Linked DNA regions of Homo sapiens: region 2 is linked to region 1. The links are contacts of gene promoters, found by promoter capture Hi-C in human tissues and cell types (Jung and others, 2019). All regions are on one chromosome and are shown on one strand. The core of a region is centred on a gene start or on the middle of the fragment in contact, and the rest is flanking DNA. Distances in the headings are between cores, read along the strand shown. Region 1 holds the start of HELT (helt bHLH transcription factor). Region 2 has its middle 40 kb from the start of TLR3.

Region 1 (5,353 bases), core at 807-3,306:
GGAACACAGCGGCCTCGCCCGGGCTGTGACCAGCGAATTCGGGCCCCGCAGGGTGCAGCTGATAGGAGAAATCCGGCTCCGGGAGCGAACCCAGCGGCGGAAAGGCGGGCTCCGCGCCCAGGCGGGCCTTGGACTGCAAGAAGGCGAGGATGCGCGCGTACTTCGTGTCCTTGGTCTCCATCCGCTCCACCGTGGTGAGGTAATGCACCAGGTTCTTCATGCACTCGTGGTAGCCATAGTGGAAGTAGTTGGCAAACTCCGCTAGAAGTTCTGCTGGAGGAACGAGAAAGCCCGTAGGACGGACACACCCTGAGTGCCCCTTCCCCACGCGAGCCCAAAGCGGGTGCAGGGCACCTCCCACCACATTTTCTGGCCAAAGTTCCCATTTGAGGCCCGCCCTCTCCTCTGCGCAGTCTTAGAGACTGGCGAGGCACGCGCAAACGCCCTCTTTCCCTGAGAGCCTGACCCCACCCACCCCACCCGGGAGAAGGAGGTGGAACCAGCCTCCCTGGGAACCAGTTCTCCCTCGCCGCCTTGCTGTCGCCGAGCAGGGAGAGGCGCCTTCGCAGGACCCCTGCCCTCCTGGAGAGTGGAGCTCTAGTAGAGCTCTCGGGAACACTCAGTCACTCCCCTCCCAGCCCCAGGGTCTCTGGGTGGCGCAGGCGCCTGGCCCAGGCGTCCCATTCCCTAACCTGTGCCCACCTTTTTCCCTTCCCCGGGGAAAATCAGCGGAGTGCAGTGCTCTCAGGTACTGAACGGTCATCTCGAGGATCTCCGCCTTCTCCAGCTTCCCGGAACTCTGCAAAAGGAGGAAGGGCCCCTCGCAGCGGCCCAGCGCCTGCTGGTCGGGCACTGTGGCGCTGGAGAGGACCAGCGAGCGGACGCGGCTGCGGATCTGCGCCAGAGCCTCCTGAGGTTCGCCCTGCGCTCAGGCCCCCCGCCTGGGAGGGGCCCGCAAGTGAGGTCCTCTGTGTCCGCGGGCTCGGGCGTCTCCGCAGAGTGGCCGCAGAGGCCTCCCAACGCCTGGCACCCGGCTCCGGGTCGCCAACGTTACCTGCTTCGCCAAGGCCATGGGCACTGTCTTGCCCAGCTCGTTCAAGCAGCGGTTGATCCTGTCCCTCCTCCGCTTTTCTATCACTTTATGAGAAACGGGGGTTCTCTGCGAAGAGAGGGTTGTATGTTTAGGATGGCTTTGCCCGGGAAGTCGTCAAAGGCGCGGCTCTAGCAGCTGGGTGCAAGCCGCCTCTCCAGCCGCGCACACTGCTCAGATTCGCTCTAGGAAGGGACTCCTGGCCCGCCACGCTCGGGCCAGGTGAGCTCTGCCTTCTGACGCCCGCGCTGGCGCGCTCCCCTTCCAGCCACCCTACCCAGGCCTTTGGGGAGGTGGCCGCCAGCCTCCAGGCAGGACTTCTACCTGGTTGAGCACCCTCCTCTCTCTACCCCACCCCCTTCCCAAACCACTCGAGATTCCTCCACACTCAAAGTCCCGTGCGGGCACTTCCCTGCCATCGGTCCACCCAAGTGGCGGGTCGGTGAGTCAGATGCCTCCACCACCAGGGCGCAAGTGCCATTTGGGCTCAGCCGACTCACTTTGCGTTCCTTGAGCTTGTCTGACATCCTGGTCAGTACGCGCCCTCGGGAGAGGCGGTGGCGCGGGGCACCCGTCCACTTTTCCGCCTCGTGTGCCTCCTCGAGTGTCCCAGGTAGACTGCAGCCTCCCAACTCCGAGGGCTGCCTTATAAAGCGGTCATCTAGGGCTCCAGATGCATTCACGAGTTGAATTATTCCATAGGATTAGGGGAGCTGCGTTTGGAGGATGTATGCATTCAAGATCAGTTTTAAAGAAGTTAAGAAAAAAAAAAAATTAGCAGCCGAGGGGGGCGAGCTGGGGGCAGATCAGCTTTGTTAATCCACGTGGCCCTTCAAAGGACACGTGATCGGCCCAGGAATAACATTTGCATGGCAACAGCTCGGGCGGGAAAAGGAGGCGGTAAACTGGGGCCGGCGGGCGAGCAAGCGCCTGCAGCAGTCGCGGGCGCGGAGCGCAGGGGCGCAGCGGCCGCGGGCACCGGGGGGCGAGGACCCTCACAAAACAGTGTCGCCTCTTTTAGTCCCACCGCTGAGTCTCACATGATCGCCTGTTTACAAATCCCAGCAAGCCCGCCGTCCCAGCGCCGAGTGCGTTTTAAAGCCTGTCCAGAGTCATTAAAGTAATTAAGTAAGCCTTTAATAGGCTGTTCCGCCGGGTTCAAGGGAGAGCTCTTGGAGACGGAGGCGCCCCGTTTGTTCCCAGGCTTTTCTCACACGACTTGGTGACACGTCCTTCTCCCCCCTTTTTGTTTACACCGCTTTATTTGTCCGGACATCCCGGCAGGTGTGGGGCTGCGGCTGGCACACGAGGCTCCCGCCTCGCCTCGCCTCGCCCCTCCCGCCGCTGTTTGGCACGCGACGCTCCCCCCTACTCCCTGACCACGTCGCTGGCTTTCTTTTCTCCCCACCCCTCCTGCTCCCTCTTCGCGGGGGGAAGAGGCTCAATTTGTAGCCTATTATCCTATACGAAAATGTCCATTGAAAAGTATGAATAGTTTCATTGGGCTAAATTTTAATAATGCCAGAGGGTGGGGGAGGAGAGACTGGCGGGCGTGTGTGTGTGTTTGTGTGTGAAGGGGCGGGTGGGAGGATTGGGGGGCAACACGGAGAAGAGTGGGCCGAGAAGAAAAGGGGGAATGCAGCTGGCCCAGGCAAGCATTATGCAACGTCACCTGCGAGAGGGGGCGCCTACAGACCCCTATTCATTTGCCTAATTTTGGTCAATTTAACAAACTTCAGGAGAAATTATTGTGGCTTTGTCAGGGAGGGTGAAGCCTTCTGATCGAATTAACAGCATGTTTTGATCCGGTAAATGTCATTAGAAAGGGAGAAACAATCGCGCTTAGAGGGCTCTGAGTAATGCGCCCAAGTGGAGACGCCAAAGCGCACGGCTCACAAAGGGAGCAAGTAGCTGCCACAGGGAACTTTTGTACCCGCCCATCGCCCAAGTTTTGACACAAAAAGGCATTATTTCATACTTGAATACGTTTAATCCAACGATTGTCTATTTTCTGCAAACATATTTTCACAGCATTGTTAACTTTTTATGTCTCCCTTTCGCTGGCGTCTTTTCTTAACGTTTGGGGGCGGGAGAGCGCAGACACTTTGGGCATCAATATTTGTCACTGAAAAGGGCCCTGTGAAGTTTGGGAAGTTGATCTCTTTTTTATGGTTTTAGAAAGCGAAAATATCGGGGGGAGGAGGAGGGAGGGAAGGCACGAACAGAAACGAGGGAGGAAATTTGCTGGACGGGCCCAAGGGGAAGGAGGGGGGCGGCGGCGGCTGGGAACTCTCTTGGCCGCCTGCGCCTCTGAGGGCAACCTGGCCCCGCGGCCAGAGGCCACCTCCCCCAGGACGGGCCTCGCTCACACTTGCTGCCTCGGATCCTATACTCTGGGGGCTCTGAGCTTGTGGGGTGTGGGTGGGGGGTGAGCTTTCTTGCAGATTGAAACGATAAAAATGATTTTTGTTTTATGGCCCTTTCTAGAGCCACCGAACTCTCACCTCTCTAATCTTTTCCATCTGGGAACAGCTGAGACCGCTTCTCAGATTTTTCTTCTTTTCTGCCTGCCCCTAACCCTGCCTAAATTCTCTCTGTTCTGCAGGGAGATGGCAGGGCCCAGCGCCCCCCTTGGGGTCGTTAGACCTTGGCAGGGGTGGGTAGGCGGCGCTCTTCTAGCTGGTGGGACCTGGGAGCCTCAGGGCGCAGAGCCAGGCCTGGGGTGCCAGGCCTCGGGGAAGCCATCGGCCCACCTGCTGCGGCCTGGGAGATGTGAGGGCTCGGTCTGCACCTCGCACCCCTAGGGTGTCCCTCTCGGTCCTGCCTCTAGTCTCCTCACGATGTTTCCTTTCTGCTTCACGCCAGATTGGACACGATCCGCACCCTCCCAGGTTGCTCTGCCAGCCGCGAGTGCCCTCTCAGGGGTTGTCGATTTCAGGATATTCACTCGCACACAAAGAGATTAAACGCGAACCCTTATCATCCAAATTAACTAACGTGAATGGGTAAAAAGGAGCGCGCACACTTCGCACTCCCACTCCCATTTTTAAGCCAGCGGCCCGGGCGTTGATCCTCTTACTGCCGGTGTTAACCGCCAGCTGCAGGCACCTTCCACGGACCACATTTCATTCCATGCACACTGTTTAATTTCCCGGGTTTGGTCTCGGCGCTTGGCTCAAGGCTTGCCCAGGGCTAAAAGTACCCGCGTGCAGGTGAGGGGGCAAGGGAAGGCCGGTGAGTGGAGACTTGGGCTCAGGGGCGCAGCCTCGCCCGGTCCTTGCGCGGCTGCAGCACTACCTGCGAAACCTGGAACGCCCTCCGCTTCAGGATAGGGAAGGACGTATTTCCTTTCTCCCTTCTCGGTCCGAAGGCCTGGGTCACACACGCTGCCCCAGAGTGGGGCGCCTCAGGGCTGTCTTCTCTTTGCTTCTCCTCAGGGTGAAGATCAGGAGTTCCCTGATCCTGGCCTAGTTTCCACGCAACATAAGAGCAGAGTAGGGAAGAGCCGAGGTTCGCCGGAGCCAGCCAGCCTGTTCAGATCCCAGCCCTACCGCCCACCAGCTGGGTGAGACTCGAGGCATCGTCCTGAATCTACTGTCCCTCAGTTTCCTCATCTGTAAAATGGAAATAATGTTTCTACTATGTTACCGGGTGGTCACTCCAGTGAAATAAGTAAATACAGACGAGGCACCTAAAAGAAGACTGGATCGTGCAGTTAGTGGTTTTACTTTGCCTGCAAATCTCTCCTACGGTGGCTCTTCTGTGTTTTACAGGGTAGTGTGGAGTTTGCACTGTTAGATGATTTTTCCACTCATTTCATTTTTTGCCCTCATCCCAGAGAAAGCTCTAGCCTCCCTGAAAAAGCCACAGTAATTCCTCCTGAAGTTTGTTTAATTGACCAAAATCAGGCAAATGAATGGGGGCCTTCAGGCACCCAGGTGACATCACATAGTGCTACTGGCCAGCTGTGTAGTCCCAGTGTGTGTGTGAGGCTGAAAGGGACTCTAAGCACAGGACCCCTCAGCATCATAGCCGTTCTCAAGGGACGCAAATATTAGCATCAAAATCAAAAGAAAGCTAGGAAGCAAGACTGCCTGGAAATTAGACAGTGCTTATTAAATATTGCTCTGCGTTCAGCCTCCTGGCAGCTAAAGACCTCTACTGGAGAACACAGCAATCACAAGCCGACCATGTTTATTATCGTTATTTTTAATACTATTTCTTTGGCTCCATAAGTTTGACAAGCAGATTGCAAACACAGAA
Region 2 (5,353 bases), core at 1,642-4,141, 1.0 Mb before region 1:
CTTCAAACATTCTATAGCGTTTGACTCTTTTTGTTGATGATAAGATTATCACTATGATCTCGGTGTCATTTCACAATCTCCTTTTGCCTCCTACAGTGCTATCCCATCAGTAAAATAGAACATGCAGACGCTGGCTAAGTTTCACTGTGGCTGGGTAGCAAACTCACTCGCATCACAGTCTCATGGATGAAACACACGTGACTTCTCAGTTTCTCGACAAGTGATCGCATCTCACTCCTGAGCCTGAACCTGCCAGCGCTAGGAATGGGGCAGGACTGCGAATCAAGATTTTGTTCAACCGAATTTATTAATTTAAAATCTCTTCTTCAGTAAGTGCTCCGTTTCCTCAATGCTTGGTTGCCCACATTGCCTCTCTCTCCTCTTTCCACCATTTCTCAGCACAAAGGGAACAGAACAACAGTTTGCTCCCCTCCCATCCATTGCATCCTCCTCCTGCTCTACAGCAGCGGGGGTCTCCTGGCCATGCCCTCCAGGCACAAAGACAGCCCACCTCCCATCCTGGACCAATCGTGTGATCACAGACCTCCAGGCTGAGTTCCGCATATGCTTAAGAGATTCATAAAATTCTCTCTTCTCTCTCTCTCTCTTCCTCACTTTTGCTCACTCTTATTCTTTCACTTATCCTTGCTCTCATCCTCTCTCCAAAGTCTAGCCTGTGGTCTTACTGTCTTGCTGCAGACAGCAACAAAAATCAGGTTTGACTGTCCCAGCATATACCTGTAAACTGGAAGAGCAGGAAGCCACTTTTCCCTTGCAGGGGAGGGAAGACAACCCCCCTGCTCTCTGAAGGTTTGATAACTGAGTCTATGAAATACGCAGACAGTAGGCAGATGAGTGGGAGAAAAGGCAAACACATGTATTATATGCACAGGGGCAGCCCAGGGAAGAAAAGTGAGTGCCCAAACCCAGTGTGGTCTGGAAGCCCACAAACCTCTTCCCAGGGAAAGAGGGGAGGTGCGGGAAGCCTGGGGTGAGAGAATGACCTGGGGGAAGGTGAATGGGTGATGCCTGTGACTGAGTCTGCCTGGATGTCCTGTGGACCCCAAGTCTCTCCTGGATAATCCTCCCAGGTTGATGAGATTCCCAGGGAGGAGATGCATGACAATTGAGCTCCTGTTGGAGAGTTGGGTTTTTAGGCAGATAGGCAGGTTCAGAGAAAGCCCCTCCCTGCATTGCTGCTCCTCCAGTGCCCTCCATTTGAAGCAATCAGTATATTTTGCGGTCGCATTTCCTGAACCCTTTTACTCTTGGAGCACTGCAACCCACAGCTTCAATGACTGGGACACCCAGAGCATGAAGATTTACGGGAAATGGAAAAATATGCCTTCAAGTACATCTCAAAAGACACTGTGCTCATTATGAACCATCTACAATATGAAGGGAGATGAGCATAAGGAGTTTTCTTTTTCCTCCCCTTCCTCCTTCGTGAATAGCCTCAAATTTCATTAAAAAATGTCTGAGAGATGTGTTTATCCAAATGACACAGCTGTAGGAGGGGAGGTCATTAGGAAGAAGTTCCATGGAAAAGAGGAAAATGAAGGTTGATTGTTACCAATAAATTAGAGTAATTTTCTTAATTTGCGGTCCCTTTGCTTGCTTGTTCATTGCTGGCGTGCCTTATGAAATATGAAAATCTGACAATTAGTCACTTGGAAGGAGCATGTCTCCACGCCAAGTCCAGGTCTCTCTGCAGCACCAGGGGATTTACTGTTCTCCCTGGGTAGCCAGAAAAGAGCTGAGCAGCCCTCATCTTTGTTCCCACTGGCAGCCTGAGAGGCAGCCTGCAGCAGCCTCCTGCTGTGACCTTTGGGGTGGGGCTGGGAGACAGCGTCTTCATGACTGACCCCATGTCAATCCCTTACTGGCAAAGGAAGAGGGAAGGCGTACAGGGGCTCTGGAGCCAAGGGAGGGGGGACACCAACAGAACGAGCAAGTCAAACACACACAGCATTACATTCTTCTCGTGCTAAACCCAAGAAAAATCTCCCAGCTCTCACAATGCTCCTTGCTAATCTCCCTTTCTGGCTATTATTCAGCTACTGTGAATCCTTCTCAAGCTTCCAGCTTCCTTTTAGCTGTAGAAAGAGAATGAAAAAAATGTACCCTAAGACCTTGGATTTTTTTTTTCTTCCTTTTCTGTTGCCAGTGAATCTGTTTGAAAAGCAGCTGGCGCAGGCTGCAGCATTATGTGCCAGCGCTAATGGAGACACTCCAGGCACAGCCAAACATGGGCTTCGTGCAGGCGTGCACTCCCAGGAGGGTGACCTGCCAGTGACACGTTTCAGACATGCACTCCCGGGAGGGTGACCTGCCAGTGACACATGTTTCAGACCCAAAGAGGGAGTTTGGAACATTGAAACTATTTCCCCTCTTTATTTTTTTTGGAAGGTCACATACATTTTAATAGTTCCATGATCAAAATTGCTGCTTCCAAGCAAGTTAACTAGAGCAGACCTCATCTCATCCCCTCCCCGCATTTCCTTTTGGGAAATTCAGGAAGTTGAGTATAAACATGTCTGGACATCTAAGTATTTATTTTTCCATAGAAAGGGCAGTCTTGCTTTTGTTTTGTTCTTAACCAGTTCTTAAAGGGCCTGATCATTTATTCAGCAATATGTATCAAGTGCCAACCATATACTAAACACTGTGGTTTAGAGTGAGGATACCCCAAGGACGAGGTGGACAAAGTGCAAAGCGTGAGTGTTACTGGCAAAACCAAACTCTGTAAAACAGCTGAAGAGGTTTATTCTGCACCAATATGAGTGGCCATGACTCAGAGAACAGTCTCAAGGGGTCCTGACAGAGGCTGTCTGAGGTGGTCGGGTTATGGCTTGGTTTTATAGATTTTAGGGAGAAAGAAGTTACAGACAAAGACATAAATCAGTACATGTACAGTGTACATTGGTTCTGCCTGGAAAGGTGGGATATCTCAAAGGTGAGAAGTGGGGGGCTTATAAGTCATAAGTAGATTCAAAGATTTTCTGATTGGCAATTGTTTGAAACAGTTAAGCTTTGTCTAAAGGCTTGAAGTTGGTAGAAAGAAATGCTTGGGTTCACATAAGGGGAGTTGTGGAAGGCAAGGTCCTTGTTATGTAGATGAAGCCTCCAGGTAGCAGCCTTCAGAGAGAATAGATACTGAATGTCTCTTTTCAGAACTTAACAGGTGTCGGACTCTGTTTTTTTTTTTTTTTTTTTTGAGACAGAGTCTCATTCTGTCACCCAGGCTGGAGCGCAGTGGCGCAATCTTGGCTCACCGCAAGCTCCACCTCCCAGGTTCACGCCATTCTCCTGCCTCAGCCTCCTGAGTAGCTGGGACTACAGGCACCGCCACCATGTCCGGCTAGTTTTTTGTATTTTTAGTAGAGACGGGGTTTCACTGTGTTAGCCAGGATGGTCTTGATATCCTGACCTTGTAATCCGCCTGCCTCAGCCTCCCAAAGTGCTGGGATTACAGGCGTAAGCCACCACGCCCAGCCAGGTGTCAGACTCTTAGTTAATCTCTCCTAGATCGGGAAAGGCCAGGCTGCATGAATGAAGATTCTCTACAAACTTCCTCCATGAAAGATGGCTTTGCAGGGCCATTTCAAAATATGTCAATGAAATATATTTTAAGGTAAAATACACTTGATTTCCTTCAGAGAGTGCTATCTGTCATATGATGCTATACCAGAGTCAGGTTGGAATTTGTTATCTTATTGCCATGGAGTCTGTTTTGTCAGTGTTATGATCTCTGTTTTCATGTTAATGCTGGTCAGTTGTACCTAAACTCCAAAGGGAGGGGGCATAGCGAGGTGTGTCTGACATCCCTTCCCATTGTGGTGGGGAATTCAGTTTTTCAGGCCTCTCTGGTGTATTAGTTTGTTTTGCATTGCTATAAAGGGATACCTGAGACCAGATAATTTATAAAGACAAGTTTACTTTGGCTTACAGTTCTGTAGGCTGTATAGGAAGTGTCTTGCCAGCATCTGCTTCTTGTGAGGCCTTAGGAAGCTTCCAATCATGGTGGAAGACTCAGGGGGAGCCAGCGTATCACAAGGCAAGAGAGGGAGCAAGAGAAAGAGCAGTGAGGTGAAACTGCTTTTGGAAAGATGATGACAGTGAGAGAAATCTGACATAGGTGACTCCATCTTGCTTCCGACCTCCAAGCTGTCCTTGGTCATTCCTGGATGTAAGCCAAGCTAACCTTGGGAAAAATTTAGTTTATAGTTTAACCTTAAGACAAGGATGATAACAGCCCTTCCCAGAACTGAACCACCTTTCTAGAACCAATGAAAGACCTCATGGTTAGGATTATGGGAGGGGCCTGAACCTGCTAAGAGACAGGTGTTGTTCCTACAATCCCTAACTACTCAGGGGTCACGTGGCCAGGGGTCACAAGATTTGAGACCTTCTCAATTGCTCCTATGGATGACATCACTACTGTAGAACCTAAGATGGGTTTTCTGAGATGTGTTTCAGACACACCCCACCTGGACTCCTGACTCCTGACTCACCTGATCCTGTGGCTCCACCCAGCAGCTGACTCAGAGCACGGGGATTGTTTCTGCACCCTGTGATTTCATCCCCAACCAATCGGCAGCGCCCATTCCCTAACTCCCCGCCCACCAAATTGTCATAAAGACTCTAACCTCTGAGCCTTCAGAGAGACCAATTTGAATGATAGCTCCAGTTCTCCCATGTGGTCCGGCTTCGTGTCAGTTAAACTCTTTCTGTACTGCAATGCTGTGGTCTCAGTGGATTGATTTTGTCTGTGCAGCCAGCAAGAAGAAACTGTCTGGCAATCACAGAGGTGCCGGGTTATTTTAGACAACCAGCTCTCCCATGAACTGATACAGCAAGAACTCACTCATTACCATGAGGATGGCACCAAGCCATTCATGAGGGATACATCCCATGACCCAAACACCTCTCACCAGGCCCCACCTGCAACATTGGGGATTACATCAGCATGAGATTTGGAGGGGACACACATCCAAACCATATCATTTGAGGTCTCCTTGGCTCAGAAGGGATCCATTCAGTCGGTTGAGGGCTTAGAGTTTTAGTTTTTGTTTACACGAGGCATGAGCGGAACTTATAAATGAATGGGGCAGAGGAGGACATTAAATAAGTAAAAATAAACCACCATTATGTGTATTTTGTTTTGTTGTAACTGCTGTGGCACTGTAAAGGAAATGAACAGGGCCTCTGACGTAATGGTATTTAGTGGGATGAGAGGTGCAGTAGAAATTATGGACTGGCTTTTCAGCTCCTGTTCCAACCCATTTATGGAATCACTTTCTGAACTACAGCTAGAATGCCTGTTTGAACTGCAGAGGCAGAGAAGAAAGAG

The links. Contacts are between HindIII fragments. The study calls those that stand out against the background at their distance.
Region 2: a contact is called between a fragment that was not itself captured here and the fragment with the promoter of HELT in region 1, in 1 of the 25 tissues and cell types used here (pancreas).

The regions. Positions count from the first base shown.
Region 1 is chr4:185,015,193-185,020,545 of GRCh38, reverse strand. It overlaps HELT (helt bHLH transcription factor), which reads right to left and starts at 2,056. Exons shown (of 4, transcript NM_001300781.2): 1 at 1,591-2,056; 2 at 1,055-1,159; 3 at 703-799; 4 at 1-273. The coding sequence starts at 1,617. RefSeq lists enhancers at 1-352, 1,067-1,646, 1,647-2,225, 2,226-2,806. The HindIII fragment of the contact is 22,587 bases long and covers 1-5,353 here.
Region 2 is chr4:186,026,751-186,032,103 of GRCh38, reverse strand. No RefSeq gene overlaps it. Among named protein-coding and RNA genes, the nearest start is that of TLR3, 40 kb to the left of the region's middle. RefSeq lists an enhancer at 3,795-4,994. The HindIII fragment of the contact is 4,021 bases long and covers 881-4,901 here.